Regions from separate parts of the Homo sapiens genome. Here regions 1 and 3 are each linked to region 2. Evidence: promoter capture Hi-C in 16 types of primary human blood cells and fetal thymus (Javierre and others, 2016). All regions are on one chromosome and are shown on one strand. The core of a region is centred on a gene start or on the middle of the fragment in contact, and the rest is flanking DNA. Distances in the headings are between cores, read along the strand shown. Region 1 overlaps GNPAT (glyceronephosphate O-acyltransferase). Region 2 holds the start of C1orf198 (chromosome 1 open reading frame 198). Region 3 overlaps TRIM67 (tripartite motif containing 67).

Evidence for each region. The method cuts DNA at HindIII sites, captures the fragments that hold promoters and counts their contacts. A CHiCAGO score of 5 or more calls a contact.
Region 1: a contact is called between a fragment that was not itself captured here and the fragment with the promoter of C1orf198 in region 2, in 1 of 17 cell types (total B cells). The highest score is 5.4, in total B cells.
Region 3: a contact is called between a fragment that was not itself captured here and the fragment with the promoter of C1orf198 in region 2, in 3 of 17 cell types (erythroblasts, fetal thymus and naive CD8 T cells). The highest score is 6.8, in erythroblasts.

What each region holds. Positions count from the first base shown.
Region 1 is chr1:231,274,597-231,277,296 of GRCh38, forward strand. It overlaps GNPAT (glyceronephosphate O-acyltransferase), which reads left to right. Exons shown (of 16, transcript NM_014236.4): 13 at 625-724; 14 at 809-902; 15 at 1,539-1,600. Among named protein-coding and RNA genes, the nearest start is that of GNPAT, 35 kb to the left of the region's middle. The HindIII fragment of the contact is 203 bases long and covers 1,316-1,518 here.
Region 2 is chr1:230,867,218-230,869,975 of GRCh38, forward strand. C1orf198 (chromosome 1 open reading frame 198) reads right to left here and starts at 1,304. Exons shown (of 4, transcript NM_032800.3): 1 at 963-1,304. The coding sequence starts at 1,295. RefSeq lists a silencer at 1,233-1,452 and an enhancer at 1,276-1,867. The HindIII fragment of the contact is 18,150 bases long and covers 1-2,758 here.
Region 3 is chr1:231,195,758-231,198,457 of GRCh38, forward strand. TRIM67 (tripartite motif containing 67) reads left to right here. Exons shown (of 10, transcript NM_001004342.5): 2 at 1,614-1,709. Among named protein-coding and RNA genes, the nearest start is that of TRIM67-AS1, 9.5 kb to the left of the region's middle. The HindIII fragment of the contact is 546 bases long and covers 991-1,536 here.

The DNA.
Region 1 (2,700 bases), core at 167-2,666, 410 kb after region 2:
GGAGAGAAAGAGTCTGAAACATAAACTGTAGGAAGGACTTCCACATGCTTGAGAGAAGAGGATGCTGTGACTCGGCTCTGTTCATATAATACATGCACTGGCTCTGGGCACCTGGACCCACTTCCTGGTGCTTGTGGTCCGTGAAATAACTCATTCAGCCTCCTTGCACAAAGTCTAGCACTTACTGAGCATTTGATAAATGCTAGTTCTACCCTTAATCACTGTTCTACAGTAGAAATCATCAAGTATTTTAGGGCATGGTACTTTCTTAGGTGTATTTAGAGAAAAAAAGCAAAGTTATTAAAATCTGACCCCTCTCTTCCCAAGTAGCATAAGAGATACGAAGCTGATGGTAATTAACTTGTACCCCTTGAAGTGAGAAATTATACTTTAATAAATGTCATTATTATTTTAAATCTTTTTCTAATTGTAAAATGTAAACTCAAAGGAGATGCCCTAAAAATTCTTTGGTTTTTCTGGGCTCATTCCTTGGAGGGTCTTTATGCTGCTCTCTTGTGATATATCCTTCTCTTAAGAGGGGCAATGTAAAGTTATTTACTATTCTGTTGAACTTGGCTATCCTTTTTCTCTTTCTGTTCCCCTCATCCTTCCTCTTAAAATCAGATAATTTGCAAGTACCTTTTGAGTGAAGAAGAGGACCACTTCAGTGAGGAACAGTACTTGGCTGCAGTCAGAAAATTCACAAGTCAGCTTCTCGATCAAGGTCAGTCACTGCTCTGTGGGTGCTGATTTCTTTTAGTTGAGAATAGAAACTGGTCAACTAACTCTTCCTCACCCCCAATTTTAGGTACCTCTCAATGTTATGATGTATTATCTTCTGATGTGCAGAAAAACGCCTTAGCAGCCTGTGTGAGGCTCGGAGTAGTGGAGAAGAAGAAGATGTAAGTACTGTACAAGATCCCATGAGTGCTCAAGGAACAAGGAAATGAATGACATTTGAGCTCAAAATCCAGAGAGACATAGAAATGGATGATCTAGGAAATGCTATATTCTACTTTCCTTATCCATCCTCTAATTAGTTAAGTCAGTGTGAGTTATCCTGAAAATTGTATGTGGTTATGAATAGAAATGCAACTGAAGCAAAGAAAGGAAGAAATAACTTTAGGCCAATATTTTTGCTTTGACTTAATGTTGAAATTTATAATTACAAGAAAGATTTTCGGGAGTGTAGTGGGCATATGAGTGTAGACACACATAAATACACACATAATACATATATAGATACATACCTGTATATGTATATATAAACATATAGATGTATGTTCTTCTAAGTGGTTGAATTTAACAGTGATAAAGCTTAATAGTAAACTCTGGCAGTCATGTCTCTTATGTGGTCAGAAGAATGAAGCAAGAAGCCAGGAGGTGGGACAGGAGCCTGAGGCCTTTCGACTACTTAGGCCCAGCCTTGAGGAAGGCAATTGAAAAGTAGTCTTACAATAGCTACGTCAGGAACAAAATATAAAAGTTGTCTTTTCCCCAGAGTTTATGTAATAATAAAGCTTATTATTTTCTCCTAGAAATAATAACTGTATATTTAATGTGAATGAACCTGCCACAACCAAATTAGAAGAAATGCTTGGTAAGTGCAGTTTAATAAAATACAAGTTTTCACATTTTGTTGATGAATTAAAATAAGAAAGTATACTGTGGCACCAAATACTTTATCAAAATGATCAGTAAGTAGTAGAGTTCTAACATAAAAGGGAATTACTTATGCAGTCTGGAATTTTCTCAAGGAAGCTAACGAGAAAGCACAAAGAAAATTAACAAAACACAGCAGGCATAAAAGAAGCAGTCTTACACAGTAGAAAGAGTCAGTCCCTAACATGACTGGTCTCAGCCAGAGGCCCAGACCCTTCACATCCTTGCCTCAGAGAGAGTACCTCATCTCCACTCTTTGTTTGATGCTCTCACTGTCTGTCTTGCATTGCTTCTTTCCCAAGTGAGAGATTAGTGTCAGTGTCTCTATCATGTAGACTTTCTGAACTCAGAATTAGGGCTGATAGCACATCCTTGGGAGAATAATCCAACCCTTACTCTTCTCTAGAGCCTATCAGCTATGAAGAAATAGTCTAGTCCAAAAAGAGTCCTTGAGTGTTGTCTTCCTTGACATAAGAGTCCTTGAGTGTTGACATAAACAGAGGTACAATCAGAGGGGGTCAAGAACACTTTTCCTAGCAATGATGCGGCCATTTTAGAAAGGAGGGTGTTAACATTTGGAAAAAATAATCTGCTGATTATATTGAATGGCGTGATGTCCTTGAGTGGATCGTCTTCCAAGTACTGTTTTTGTACCTAATCTTAATTCAGTACCTCGTCAAACCTGCATGGAAGAGCTTTAGATAAATGTCTGTTGGGATTTGCGGAAGACCAGAATGGGGCATACGGAAAAGGAGAATGGATGAAGAAAAGGGTAGAAGGGCAGTGGGGTAGTTGTTGCATATCGGGAAGGCGGAAGTACTAGACCTTGTAGAAAAAAATATGTAGGTCGAAATCCCAGTCTTCTATTTATATCGTGTCTGAAGAGGTGCATATACCTAAAACAACCACAAACACCTCGCCCTGTGAGGGTGACGGAATCAATTACTTAATCACGGAAAGCAGATGTGATGTGAGCGTGAACATACTGGACTGGAGTTCAGAAAACATGACGGGGTTCAACTCCTGGCCCTGGCCCTG
Region 2 (2,758 bases), core at 54-2,553:
TTGAAACGCCAAAGAGTCACAGTGCAAATTCTAATGGCACCAAACAGGCTTCGGTTAAACACATTTCTAAGAAAAAGAAGACCAAGTTTCTGAACCCTACAGAAGATTCAGGCGTTTGTGACTAAGTGTGGGTCATCCCTGAGCTTTTTCTGGAACAGATTCAGCGTTTCTACCTTCACAAATGACTGTCCCTCTAGCAGTCTGGACAGTGTCTAGATCTGAGACCTAAACATGCCCTGTTATGTGGCCAAGACTTACTGGAGCTCATTTAAACTTATCGTCCCTTAGTTTTTTGGTGGAAAACAGGGCCACCATGCTCACCCTTAAAACATACGCTGGGCATTGTGCTCACTTGGAAAACATCTTAGGGTGATGGATGGGTTTCCCTCCTTATCTTGGAAGACACCTTTTCTTCCTTGTTACCTGGCTTGGCAATTTTACTTTCCCCATACATCTCATCACAAGTATTCATGTTAGTATATATCATTTGCTCAGTCCCTTCACGGGCAGGCACGGGGTGGCGTTATTACCCCCGTTTTACACAGTGGAAACTGAGGCTCTAAGAAGTTAATTGACCCACCGCCATACAGGTAGTAAGTAGCAGAGCTGGATTAAAACCCAGGCTTGTCTGGTTTAAAATTGCTTGTTGTTTCCACTTTGGTCAGCCTCGCTTACGACAGCTCCGGGAGAAGTCTCTGGAGTCCGTGCGAGCCGGCGGATCAGGTCTAGATGGAGGTTCTTTAACGACCCACCTCTCGGCGATCTCTTAACCAACTCCCCCAGCGGAGCCCCCACCCCCCGAACTTCGGCTCTGGGGCTCCCCTCCCACCCACTGCCATTCCTGCCTTTTCTTTTCCAGCCCCTACCAGCTGGGGCGGCCTCACGCCGGCAGGTGCCCACCGGGCCGGGGCGCCTCGGGGCGCCGGGAGGGGAAGAGGGTCCGCGGCCAGGCCCGCACCTACCTCGTCCCCGAAGCGCACCACCTTCTGGCCCGTGGGCCCGCGCAAGCCGGGGAAGCGCGTGAGCTCCTCCGAGTCCCCGGGGTCTCGGGGCGCCGGGGCGCGCGGCCCCACCAGGCACCGGTCGATGATCTCGTCCTGCTGCGCGGGCGGCAGCCGCGCCCACTCGGGCCCGTACTTCTCGCGGATCTTCTCCTTGTCCTGCATGATCTTCCTGGCCATGGGGCTCAGCGACGAGAAGTAAGTGAAGCGCTTTCGCTCCCGGTCGTCCAGAGGCCGGTTCCCGCTCATGACCGCCGAGCGCGAAGCCGCGATCGCCGCCGCCATGGACGCCATGCCCGGCCTGCCCGCCGCTCCCGGCCCGCGCCCCGCCCCTCGCTGTGCCCGCCCTCGCCCCGCCCCGCGCCACCCGGAGCCCCGCCCCCTCCGGGAACCCCGCCCTGCACCGCCGCGTACCCGGGTCTCCAAGCCAACCCAGCTCCCCAAGCCCCGGGACCCCGGCCCTCCGTGGCCCCCTCCCCGGGAGCTCCTCCCTCCGGGCCCCCCCCCGCCACCCCCTCGCGGACCCCACGAGTCCCCCTTTACGCCTCCATAGTGGATTACCGCGGTGCCCGCAGGTTTCGGGCTCCCCTTACCCGGCTCAGGTGGTAGCCGGCGTGTCCCTGAGTCCGCGCCCGGCGCTCTGAGAGGGTGGCCGTGGTTAATTCCCGGTAGTGACCGCCATAGCGCCACGTGGCCACTGCTTGACAAAGGAAACTTTTTTCAACCTCCAGTGAGCCTAAGAAAGCCCCAGCATTTCAGGCCAAGCCGCTGGCTGCCTGGCTTCTGTTTTTACTCCTTTCCTTCTGTCCCTTTCTGGGACGAGCCACACCTTCTCTGCTTTCTCTGGGCCCGTCCAGGACGCTGGGCCCGGGGCCTGGCGCGGTGAGCTGCAGATAGCCGGGGGCGCAGGGCAGCCCGGAGGCTGGAGGGCGACCTGGAAGGCTGGACCGGTTCGGGGCATCTGGTGCTCAAGGAAAGTCAGCTCCCGCCGCCCCTCGGGGCCAGGTGGGTGCATGAAGTACCCGGTGGCCCAGGTGCCTTTCCCCAACCCAAGGAGCTCAGAACTCTTGGCAGTTCGACGTTTGCAAACAAACCAAAGAGGAGCAGAAAGTTTTCAGACTCAGAGGCGACATCCCAACAGGTAGGGGGCCAGGGTTTGTAATTTTGAGGTGTGTCCCAGACAGACCACAAAATTAAAATTATAGCGAGCCCCCACTTCCCCCAAGCCCCTCTCTCCATCTGACTGATTTTAACAAGACTAACAGGACTCAGGTGAGAATTGTGTCCACTCGTAAAATAAAAAAACAAAAACAAAAACCAGCATTTCAGCTGTTATCCAGGGTCTTTGCCTGGATAGTTCTGAACACAAAAGTAGAAATAACTTGCAAAGTCCTATTTTAAATGTGAGATGGCCTCATCTTCCGGCCCAGAAATCCTCAGAATATTTTTGGAATGTCATGAATGTGGCAGGCTCTACAGTTAAAGACATTATTATCAACAATGTTCACAACATAATATATTGAAGCAGGGAAAGGCAAGCACCACCAAATATAGTCTCCACAGTAAGTGGCGGATTATTTATGAGACCGGAAGTTTAAGGACAGTTTTTTGGAGTATGATCTTCTGTTTGAGTTGATGCTAGAGAAGCTCAATACATTGACCTGAATCCCACTGATTTCTCTCCTCTAATCCTTGTTTAATAATATAGGTAATGTTTAAAGATATATTCTTGAAATTAATTAACATCCCCAGGCTTG
Region 3 (2,700 bases), core at 14-2,513, 330 kb after region 2:
GGGATCTCAAACTGCATCAGAACCCCCTGGAGGGCTTGGTAAACCGCAGACTCCAGGGCTTCACCCACGACCTCTGATCAGCAGATCTGGGGTGCAGCCAGAGACGGTGCACTTCAACAAATCGCCCAGTGATGCTGATGTTGCTGGTCTAGAACCACACTTTGACAACCGTTGGTGTGGTCTAAAGAATCCCATTCACTGATTCATGCATTCAACAAATATTTATTGAATGCCACCATGTGCCGGGTACTCTTCCAGTGCCGGGATAAGCTGTGAGCCACCCAGCAAAGCCCTTGTCCTTCATTCTAGGACATGGAGATGGACAGCAAACAAGTTTTCTAGGTTGGGTGGTGACGACTGTTAGGAGGAAGAATAAGCCAGGGGAAGGCGAGGGGGATATTGCACAAGGTCGTGAGGAAAGTCCTCACTGACACAGTGACGTCTGAGCAGAGACCTGGGAGGGGACTTGGGGGAGAAGGAGACCCTGGCCCTTCTGACTCTGCTTTGTTCTATCCTCAGCTTTTTAATGTGGAAAATGAGAGTCATGTAAAAATCAGGGTCACAGTCTGGATGGGCGTGATGGCTCACACCTGTAATCCCAGCAATTTGGGAGGCCAAGGTGGAAGGATCACTTGAGACCAGGAGTTTGAGATCAGCCTGAGCAACACAGCCTCCGAGACACCATCTCTACTAAAAAATGCAAAAATTAGCTGGAGGCTGATTTGGGAGGATCACTTGAGCCTGAGAGGTTGAGGCTGCAGTGAGTCATGATTGAGCCACTGCACTCTAGCCTGGGCAACACAGTGAGACCCTGTCTCAAAAAAAAAAAAAATCAAGGTCACAGTCTACTCAATAGCTAGGTTTTAAAGACAAATTCAATTGTGTGTGTATGTGGTTCGTTACAAAAAAGCCTGGTGCCAAAAGCCATAGATTTGAGCTCAGCTTGCAATTTCACCCTTGGGCCACAGCAACTGATCCTCATGCTTCAGAAGCTTCTGCTGGTCACACCCCTCTCTGCAGGGTGAGGAGTCCCCAGGGCTAAGGGTACCAGGCTAGGAGCCTGTATGCCCCTTTAGAGGATGCCCTAGGATTACCAGTCCATACACCTAGTCCAGTTCCAGGACCCACAGCCCCCTTCCTGTCCATCCCTCAGGGCATACCAGGCCCCAGGGTTTGCACCCCAGGCCAGGAGATGACTGTGTAGGGATGGGGTGGACGGAACCTGACCTGGGGTCTGGAATGTCCATACAGGCATGTACTGATTATGGATAGAGGGGGCCAGGCCAAGCCAAGGACTCTATTTATCTTCTTGTCTTGGGCTCTACAAACATCAGGGGCAGACCTGTTTGCTTCAACCCGTTAGCTGAGTGCTCCTTACCTCTATCCAGCTTTGGGGATGAGAAAGGAGAGTGCAGGCCAATCTACCACTGTTGGAAAAATAAACAAATGTTGTAGAGATCATGGGTCAGTGGTGGTCCCTTCATCAATGAGAACAGCAGATGCGTGGGATCAGTCCTATCCCCTCTTATAAACATAAGCTTTTATGATGAAGTGCAAATTTTCTGTGCCTTTCACAACTAATTTTTCTTTTCAACATGTGATATCTTTTTCAGGCACAACTATCTCAGGCCTTAAATGGAGTTTCAGATAAGGCAAAGGAAGCAAAGGAGTTTCTGGTTCAGCTAAAGAACATATTGCAGCAGATCCAGGTGAGCACAGCTCTGGCGTCGGGAGAAATACTCAGTGTTGAAAGTTTGCACGTTGTGCATCGTATTAAGAAGAAAGAGGCGGGGCACGGTGGCTCACACCTGTAATCCCAACACTTTGGGAGGCCGAGGCGGGCAGATCACCTGAGATTGGGAGTTTGAGACCAGCCTTACCAACATGGAGAAACCCGTCTCTACTAAAAATACAAAAATTAGCCGGGCGTGGTGGCGCATGCCTGTAATCCCAGCTACTCTGGAGTCTGAGGCAGGAGAATCACTTGAACCTGGGAGGCGGAGGTTGCAGTGAGCCGAGATTGTGCCATTGCACTCTGGCTTGGGCAACAAGAGAGAAAGTCTGTCTCAAAGAAAAGAAGAAGAAGAAGAAGAAGGAGAAGGAGAAGGAGAAGGAGAAGAAGGAGAAGAAGAAAGGAAAAGTCTTGTAGCAAGCATTTTCTCAGTGATGGACATTAGAAGGTTTATGTGTCCTACCCTATAGCCTTGGGTGCTGAAAGTGTCACATATTCAACTCATTGGCACACAAGTGACACCTGATACAGGAAAGGACTTTTACATGGAGCCAATTAGAGAGAGCTGGAAAGATGTGATCTAGCACTCTACGTGCCATGTCGTCGTCCTTTGTGGCATCTGTATATGGTGCTTTTGTGGCCGAATATGCCCATGTCATCAATGCATCAAAATATAAATGCATCATTTTCTAAACAAATGTGTTTACTGAACTCTTATGCTGTGTCATGTACTGAGCCCAGCACAAGATACAAAGATCAATGAGGCACCATGTGTGCCTCAGGGTCTGTCTATAGGGGAGAACGTGCACACACAGGTGCTCCTGTGTGAATGTGCACACATAGAGGAACTGCTCATAAGATGAGAAAGCATTAACATATCTGGAGGAATAAGAGGGACTGAATTCTTTTTTTTTTGAGACAGAGTCTCACTCTGTCGCCCAGGCTATAGTGCAATGGCACGATCTCAG